3 separate regions of the Homo sapiens genome follow, and regions 1 and 2 are each linked to region 3. The links are contacts of gene promoters, found by promoter capture Hi-C in human tissues and cell types (Jung and others, 2019). All regions are on one chromosome and are shown on one strand. Each heading gives the region's core, a stretch centred on a gene start or on the middle of the fragment in contact. The rest is flanking DNA. Distances are from core to core; before and after follow the strand shown. Region 1 overlaps KTN1 (kinectin 1). Region 2 overlaps KTN1 (kinectin 1). Region 3 holds the start of DLGAP5 (DLG associated protein 5).

What was found. Contacts are between HindIII fragments. The study calls those that stand out against the background at their distance.
Region 1: a fragment that was not itself captured here is called in contact with the fragment with the promoter of DLGAP5 in region 3 in 1 of the 25 tissues and cell types used here (psoas muscle).
Region 2: a contact is called between a fragment that was not itself captured here and the fragment with the promoter of DLGAP5 in region 3, in 1 of the 25 tissues and cell types used here (lymphoblastoid cells).

Annotation. Positions count from the first base shown.
Region 1 is chr14:55,675,905-55,678,805 of GRCh38, forward strand. KTN1 (kinectin 1) reads left to right here. Exons shown (of 44, transcript NM_001079521.2): 41 at 1-14; 42 at 2,448-2,540. Among named protein-coding and RNA genes, the nearest start is that of KTN1, 97 kb to the left of the region's middle. The HindIII fragment of the contact is 3,550 bases long and covers 1-2,901 here.
Region 2 is chr14:55,657,166-55,660,374 of GRCh38, forward strand. KTN1 (kinectin 1) reads left to right here. Exons shown (of 44, transcript NM_001079521.2): 30 at 1,381-1,449; 31 at 2,501-2,538. Among named protein-coding and RNA genes, the nearest start is that of KTN1, 79 kb to the left of the region's middle. The HindIII fragment of the contact is 3,805 bases long and covers 1-3,209 here.
Region 3 is chr14:55,190,030-55,193,303 of GRCh38, forward strand. It overlaps DLGAP5 (DLG associated protein 5), which reads right to left and starts at 1,556. Exons shown (of 19, transcript NM_014750.5): 1 at 1,434-1,556. LOC105370508 (a long non-coding RNA gene) reads left to right here and starts at 1,644. Exons shown (of 2, transcript XR_943888.3): 1 at 1,644-1,773. RefSeq lists enhancers at 746-1,299, 1,300-1,852. The HindIII fragment of the contact is 18,393 bases long and covers 1-3,274 here.

The DNA of each region.
Region 1 (2,901 bases), core at 66-2,565, 490 kb after region 3:
GTGATTTGCATAAGGTAGGCACTGTTCGTCCTAGAGATGTAGTATCATGAGCCTGTGTTGTGTGTTCAATCTTAAGCAAACTTATGCTGCTAATTCTGGATTTGTTGTTTTGCATCATAATATTAACCTTTTATAAATTTAAGCTGCTTGTTATTAGTTAGTATTTTGGAATGAAACGTTTTGGCTTGTTTTTCCAGGATTCTTAATTCACCTCATTATTTCCTCACATTTCTATAATTAATTGCTTTATAAAGTACAGAGTAAAATTTAGTTGGAGTTATTAAAATTTGGCTGCATCCATATATTTTTTAAAATTGGGATTTGGCTGTGTATTCATTTACAAAGTATGTTTCTCTTGGTCTTTTGGATAAAACAAAGATATAAATTTCTATTTTTTTTAGATGTTTTTCCTTCATTTATTTCTTCATACAAATATATTTTTCCTAATCTCAATGCAAATGAATGATTTTTAGGACTGCATTTCTTTGCATTGGTTTGACAGGTTATTTGTAATTCTGTTTTGAGATCTATTTTTAATAGTAGAATTCACATATTCTTATATCAAAGCTGTTTTAGAGCTATGATAGTGTTTATGGATATATCATCATTAGCAAAACAAGTGTCACTTTTTGGAATTGCAAGAACAAGAGGTACGCACTTAAATTTTGATAGTATAAAATGGAATCCCAGAAACCCAACAGTAGTAATTTATACTCCTCTCAACATGGTATGAGAACATGTATTTCCCTATACCCTCACCAATATTAGATACTGTCTAACATTTAAATATTTGATATTCTAATAGATTTTAAAAGTTATCTCATTTTAAAAAATAATACTCCTTTTAAAGAGTTGAAAGAAATTTTTTTTTGATTCTATATGCTTATAGTTTATAATTGTTATGTAAAAGTCTAGGAATCCACAAGTGTTGTCAGGTTATTTTAGTGTAGACAGAATGTGAATTTGGGTCTGTTTTAGAGGACAAACTTTGATGCTTAATACACTGTTGTGGTTGAGCAGTCAGTTTACTTTGATACGTGATTTTAATTTTTGACCTCTGGATCAAAATATAAACATGGAATTTAGCCTAGCAATGTAGTTTCTTAGAAAGTACTTTAAAAATACCAAACTGGTGCTCAAAGTTATATAATAGATATACCATCTTATTTACAGTAGCTAAGATGGCAATGATAGGTGACAGTTAACTGCCCCATACCTATACAGTAGAAATATTGTGCAACATTTGATTGGAAAAGCACATAAATATTTGACTAAAAAAAGTTTATAACGGCTGGGCATGGTGGCTCACGCCTGTAATCCCAGTACTTTGGGAGGCCAAGGTGGGCGGATCACCTGAGGTCAGGAGTTCAAGACCAGCCTGGCCAACATGGTGAAACCCCCGTCTCTACTAAAAATACAAAAATTAGCCGGGTGTGGTGGTGCGCACCTGCAGTCTCAGCTACTCAGGAGGCTGAGGCAGAAGAATTGCTTGAATCCGGGAGGCAGAGGTTGCAGTGAGCCGAGATTACGCTACTGCACTCTAGCCTGGGTGACAGAGAAAGACTGTCTAAAAAAAAAAAAAAAAAAAAAAGTTAATAACATACTTTGTAAAATAGGTAAGTATAAAGCAGTATGTATGTTAAAGCTCACTTATGTAATATTTTCTATAAGCACATAATATGTAGAGAGGGATCTAAACTAGGGGTGGACAAATCCCAAAGCTTTTTTAGGGTTTGTGGGTCACATATGATCTCTTTAGAATATTTTTGTCTCCTTTTTAACATAACCCTTTATTTTATTATATATTTTTTGAGATGGAGTTTTGCTCTTATTGCCCAGGCTGGAGTGCAATGGCACCATCTTGGCTCACTGCAACCTCCGCCTCCCAGGTTCAGTTGATTCTCCTTCCTCAGCCTCCCTAGTAGCTGGGATTACAGGCATGTGCCACCACACCTGGCTAATTTTGTATTTTTAGTAGAGATGGGGTTTCTCCATGTTGGTCAGGCTGGTCTCGAACTCCCGACCTCAGGTGATCCGCCCGCCTTGGCCTCCCAAAGTGCTAGGATTACAGGCGTGAGCCACCGCGCCCAGCAACATGGCCCTTTAAAAAGTAAAAAATATTCTTAGCTTGTATTCTGTACAAAAACAGGCTTTGGGCCAGATTTGACTAACCTGTAATCTAGACTAATACTAACCTAAATATCAACTATGGTTATTTCTGTTTTTAAATTTCTTTGTATAGTTTCTGCATTACTTAAGCTTTTAAAAACAGTGAACATATGTTCTTATAATCTGGTGGGGGGTGAAGCTATTTTCATTTTGGAGGGAAAAACCTGTGTCGTCTTTTGAGAGGAGCTTTTATCTTCTACAAAATGAATAAAATTATTCATTTTTTATGTATTTATCAACTGTATTACTTAGTAGCTACCATATTGTTTTCCTTATAGGCTCAACAGTCACTGGAGCTTATCCAGTCAAAAATAGTAAAAGCTGCTGGAGACACTACTGTTATTGAAAATAGTGATGTTTCCCCAGAAACGGTATGTATTTTCTTCATCCCCAGATCTCTGAGCTAGTTACCTTGTGACCTGTGTAAAGAACAAAAATGTATAAGGTCCATCTCCGAAAGTCATCTTTCTTGAAAATATCCTGTCCCTAAAATGTAGTGTTTTCATTGATGTTTGATCTCATTTTTGCTTATTGAGGTATGTTAATTTTAAGGGTTGTGTTGAGAGGTATGGAGCGGGGGTCCCCAATTCCTGGACTGTGGACAGGTACCAGTCAATGGCTTTTTAGGAACCAGGCCACACAGCAGGAGATGAGTGGTGGGTGAATGACCATTGCCGCCTGAGCTCTGCCTCCTGTCAGATCAGTGGCAGCATTAGATTCTCATAGGAGTGC
Region 2 (3,209 bases), core at 303-2,802, 470 kb after region 3:
CCTGCAAAAGTGTTTTCACTAATTGACACTCTCACCAACTAAGGGCCATTTCACCTTCTTCCTTTCCAACATTGACAAGGATAAAAATTTTTGATATTATACTTGAAAGATGGTAAGATTATTTTTAATTTGCATTTGACTGCGAGAGAAGTTAAGCATTTTTCGTATGTTCAAGCCATTTTTATATGAATTGTCCTTTAATTTTTCCCACACTTTTTCCACTGAGTTGACGTTTTTTTTTTTTTTACTAATTTGTAAGATCCTTTTTATGTAATAAGGGAAATTAAATAACCTTTTGTTATTATATGAGGTGATTTATTTTCCCCATTTTTTCTTCTGACTTCATTTGTGTTTTTCCCCTTTTTGGGAAATTTGAAACTTTTATGTACTCAAATATAAGTAATTTCTAGAGTTTTAAGTCTCTGGAAGAAAGGTATCTCTCTACGATCATAAAAATGTATTCGGCTGGGTGTGGTAGTTCACAGTAGTAATCCCAGCACTTTGGGAGGCTGAGACAGGTGGATCTCTTGAGGTCAGGGGTTCGAGACCAAACATGGCCAACGTGGTGAAACCCCGACTCTACTAAAAAAATACAAAAATTAGCCGGGCATGGTGGCAGGTGCCTGTAGTCCCAGATACTCGGGAAGCTGAGACAGGAGAATCACTTGAACCCGGGAGGCAGAGGCTGCAGTGAGTTAAGATCACACCACTGCACTCCAGCCTGGGTAACACAGCAAGACTGCCATCTTTAAAAAAAAAAAATTACATTTTCTTCTAATGTGTTTATAATTCTTTTTGTTTGTTTGTTTGTTTAGCTTATTTAGTGTAACTTATTTCAGTAAGCTGTAACAATAACATTGTAACCATTAAAAAGAGAAGGCTAGCCACATTATTAAATAATCCATCATAACAGTAGTAATTCCGTTCCCCAGGGGGACATTTGTCAATATCTGAAGACATTTTTGGTTGTCACAGCTGGGGCAGGCGGGCTGGGGCATCTAGTGGATGGGTGCCATGGATGCTTCTAAATGTCCAGCAGTGCATAGGATAAAACCCCCACAACAAAGAAAAATATGAAACCCAAAATGTTACTAGAGTTGAGGTTGATTTGAAATGTCACTTCATACTAAATTCTTAGAGCTATTTCGGTATATTTCTGGATTCTATTTTGTTCCATTGAGACATGCAAACTCCGCAGCTAGTACTAATATAAATACTCTAATTTCATCATATGTTTTAATAAAGAGCTTATTACACCCTTTAAAATTATTGCTATTTTGGAATTTTTCTAGCTTGTATGATCTGTTTCTAGCTTGTATGATCTAAGTTTATGTGGAAAAAATCTGTTTAGATACTGATGTTTAATTTTTATTTAATTAGGATGTACAAGATGAAAACAAATTGTTTAAGTCCCAAATTGAGCAGCTTAAACAACAAAACTACCAACAGGTAGGTATTATTAGATGTCTTGCCTTTCACTTACGTGGCAAAAAAATTATATAACCAGTGACATATGAGTATTTTTGCCATTTCTGCATTTTCATTGAGAATGAAGTATGTTTTATTTATGTTTATCAAATTTTATATAAAAGAAAGCAACTTGCTATGTCATATCCAAAGTAAAACAAATCTATAAAGTATACACAAATAATATTATTGCCGGTATTCCAGCTCTGTTTTGTATTCATGTGTGTTTTCTGATCCTAGAATTCTTAGCAAGTCAGTTTAAATACTGTAGAGGTTGGGTTAAAGATATGTGTACACACTCTTATCTCCCCTCTTCCCAAATGAAACATTAGTAACTGGAGAGAAACTAACAAATGTATCATAAGCAATAGTCTACTACTATTTAAAAGAGGTTTTCAAGTTATAATTCTGCTTGGTAAATCAAAAGTGTGTTTTTATAAAAGATGCTACCCAAAATAGCCTGTAAATTAATTTATGCATGTATATGGATAGACTTGATAGTATTTTGAGAAACAAATGAATTGGAGTCCTTGCAAACAAGAAGCTTGAGAGATTATTGTCACCAAGGAATAAATACCATATATGAAGGGCTGTGTACCTTTGCATGTTGATGTATAAATAACTTTGTTAAACGTGAGGAAACATAACTTGTCCTAGTTTTGCTTTTGATTTCTGTTTTTTTTTTTTTTTTTTAACTTGGAAGCTTAACAGTTTTATGTAGTCAAATTTGAATTGTGCAGTTTGAAAATGTAAGGTGTGCTTCCATGCACATAGTGGGAAATTGATAAATACTTATTAAATGAAGAGTTCAAGTACGTTGCGACAGTAGAGATTGGATTTAGCATTCCATACATTTTACAGATTTGTACATGTTTTTATTAAAATCACTTGATTAAAGTCAGGGTTACTGGCATATGAAATATATACTATTTTTACTTTTGTTGTTTTCTTAATTTATATTTGAGAAAAGCTTCAATGTTTTTAAGTCTCCTGAAAAGTTTTGTTCTGAAATAACATTTAACTCTTTTGATAGGCATCTTCTTTTCCCCCTCATGAAGAATTATTAAAAGTGTAAGTAATAAGTTTGAGTCACAGTTTATAAAGTCGTAACTATTTTTATGTGGTAAACCATTCTCAAATAAGCAATTTAGTGTAACTGCAAATGGCACCTGATTTTTACAGTTCTATTTGGATATCTTGAATTGCAGTTTAGAGTTGAGTAGTACCTTTGGCTAAGATGCTTTTTTTATGGTATTTGGATTTGAATATTTTGTTGAGGGAGATGTTTGTTTTTGTTTTTTTAGGCATTCAGAAAACATCAAATCAAGTTAAACTATACTTTGCAGGGTTTTCTAAATCACCTTCTATTATGTCAGTTATCTTACTGGGTCTTCTTTCTTCTAGATGTGATTGTGTAATTGAATGATGCAAATTTTGTCTTAGCTTCATTTTTTAAAGAAATTTTAGGATAGATGTGGTAGCTCACGCCTGTAATCCCAGCAGCTGGGGAGACTGAGACGGGAGGATCACTGAGCTCAGGGGTTTGAGATCAGCCTGGGCAACATAGTCAGACCTCGTCTCTACGAAAAGTTTAGAAATTCCGGGTGTGATGGCATGCACCTGTGGTCCCAGCTACTCGGGAGGCTGAAGTGGGAGGATCTTTTTAGCCCAGGAAGTTCGCACCATTGCACTCCAGCCTGGCACCAAGAAAAAAAAAATACATACATATAGTCTTTATGATT
Region 3 (3,274 bases), core at 306-2,805:
GAAGACTCCAAGGATTTTAGTAGTTGTTTGCCAGAAAACAGAACAAGACCAAATATATAGTTCACAATAACCCTATCAGTTTGCTCCATTATTTTCATCCATACAAGAAATCATACAGTTTAGGCCGGCACGGTGGCTTAGGCCTGTAATCCTACCACTTTGGGAGGTCGAGGCAGGACTGCTTGAGCCCAGGAGTTTGAGACCAGCCTGGGCAACATAACACGACCCCGTCTCTATAAATTTTAAAAAAGAAAAGCCATACACACACACACACACACACACACACGCACAAAATCATATAGTTTAATTGGCACATGCCTTTTTCTTGGAAAGATCTTTGAGAATGTATTCAAGCAAAACAAAAGAGGACAATAAAGACGACGTCAGTAGATCCAACTAGGGAGAACAAAGAAAATTAGAAAGTTTGAGGGGGTCACCTGTGTAGCTGGTATAGAGAACTACCAAGCCAAACTGGAGAAAGGATACTGATTCTCAGAAGTCTTGGCAGTTAAAAAACAAAAACAAAAAAAGGTAAGGGGGAGGCTCTGTGATAGACACACTATGGTATATTCTTCAACAAGAATTAACTAAATCCACTAGAAAACTCCAGATAATAGAAAAATTGGCACAAGTAATGCAATACATTGTTACATGATTCTAAGCAATCAACAAAATATAAAAAACGAGAATCTGTCTGACCTGCATGCTAATAACATTCTCCTCTAAGACCCAAGGAAAGTGACAATGGACTGTGCTTTTCATAAAGAACTGTCTTCTACTATTTATCTCCTGCAATATTAATTCGCTAAAGATTGAAGAAAAATTAAGACTTATGTATTAAATACAGGATAGCACTATCCACAGCAAGAGAAAGAGCGAGCGAGGACAACATTAAAGGTACAATTATCAGAATAACCCTGAAAGGTAGTTAACTATTATCGCTCTCATACAGATGAGGTCAATTAACTGCTCACATTAGCATATCTAAAAGGTGGTGAAGCTGGGATCCCAAGCAAGGCAGCCCTGGCTCCACACACACCTAAATTTTGTTTGGCTGAGTGGCGTTTCCTCCAGCTTGAAAGTCCAGAATGCGTTAATCTTGCTTGACTAGAGGTTCTCAACCGGGCGTTTTTAGTTGCCATGGGACCTGGGAAGAGCTACGGGAATTTAATGTCGGAGCTAGTGAAGAACAGTTTCACCCCAAAGGTCAATTACGCCCCGGTGGTGAAACGCTGACTATTACAGAGGTCAGGGCAAACATATGGACTCTTCTAAAGGCTCGCATTATCAGCTTCGGGAAGGGCAGGTAACACGGTCCTAAAGGAGCCTGCCTCTGACTTGCTCCCGCTCGCAGCCCCCGGTCCTCAGACCCTTCTAGACCTTCAACGGAAGCGGGCCAGTGTTCTCCGTCCAGCTCTCCAGCACCCACCTACCTGAGCCACCTTCTAGCGTGAAACCTCAACCAAACAAAAAGTAAAGAACACTCGGTCTGGACGACCACCGCCGACTCCGAAGCAGGAACCCTCACAACCCGAGCCTCCACGAAATTCAAACTTGCCGCACCGAGCCGCTGATTGGAGGGGCTTTAACCAACACTTCCGGGGAAGATCCCACCCCTTCCACTCAACGAGGCTTGCGATTGGTTTGCTCCGTGCGATATTTGAATTGATTGAAAGGTGAAGGGCCAGTTCAAAAGATGGGTGAGAGAGGGAAAATAGGCGGGACCGCGACGCGGGATGAGAAGGAGTGGAGCAGTCGGGGCGCTCACGTCAGGTGAAGGGCGGGAGTGGGCGGTGGAGCCCGAGGGGTGAGGCTGGGTCCCTGGCAAAGCTGGGCTGCGGGAAATCTCCCCCAGAGCTCGCAAGGCTTTTTTTTTTTTTCTTTTTTCTTTTTTTTGAGACAAGGTCTCTGTCCCTTAGGCTGGAGTATAGTGGGCACCGACCACTGCTCACTGCAGCCTTGAGCTGCTGTGTTCAAACCATCCTCCCACCTCAGCCTCCCGAGTAGCTGGGACTATAGGCGCGCACCACTACGCCTGGCTAACTTTAAAAAAATTCCGTAGAGACAGGGCCTCACTACGTTGACCAAGCTGGATTCAGGGCTTTTTAATGTCCTTGTTTAGTCACAGAATCTAGCAGACCTTCTTGGAATGTTTTCTTTACTAGACGTTTTAAAGAAAAGGCTTACCCCAATTATCAAATCCTTACATAGTTTAGCGTTACTTTTCAACGTCGCCAGCCCCCCTCCCCTTTTTTTTCTTTTTTAGTTCATTTTTTGTTGAGGCGAAGTTTTCGTATACAGTGAAAATAATAGTTTTTCCCCCCCAGTGGACAATTTGATGAGTTTGGTAAATGTAAACAGCTGTGTAACTACCACCCAATCAGGACGTAGAGCATTTCCATCACTCAGAAGAGTGGCCTGTTTCTTTCCTGTCCATCTCCCACCACATCAGCAACCACTCCTCTTATTTCTAGCACTATAAAAATGAAGGTGATAGGTACTCTTTTGGGTCTGCGTGAACCAGAAGTTAGTAGTGTTTGTTATTGAGAGGCATTCCATTGAATACTTTATGCATTCACCAGTTGATGGATTTGTATTGCTTTCAATTTTTGGTGATGATGAGCAAAGTTGCTATAACCATTCTCGTACAAGTCCTTGTGGGCATATTTTATTTATCTTGAGGAAATACAGGAGTGGAATTTCTGGGTCATTCTGGGTATGTTTAACTTAAAATTTTTTTTTTTTTTTAGAAGCAGGGTCTCTCCGTCCCCCAGGCTAGAGAGCAGTGGCACAATCATAGCTCATTGCAGCCTTGGCCTCTTGAATAGCTGGGACTATAGGCGGGTGCCGTCACCCATGTCTAACTTTGTAAGGAATTGCCAAGCAGTTTTCCAAAGTGGTTGTACCATTTTACAATTCCCACCAGCCACATATAAGAGTTCCACTTGTTTCACATGCTTTCCAGCACGTGGGGTTGTCAGTCTCTAATGTTCACCCTTCTGGCCAGGCACTGTGGCTTGCGCTTGTAATCCCAGCACTTTGGGAGGTCAAGGCGGGGGGATCACGAGGTCAAGAGATCAAGATCACCCTGGCCAATATGGTGAAATGCCGTCTCTGCTAAAAATACAAAAATTAGCCGGGTGTGGTGGTGCGCGCCTGTAGTCCCAGCTACTCAGGAGGCTGAGGCAGGAGAATCGCTTGAATCCAGGAGGTGGAGGTTGCAGTGAGCTGAGATCGCACCACTCCACTCTGGCCTGGGTGACAGAGTGAGACT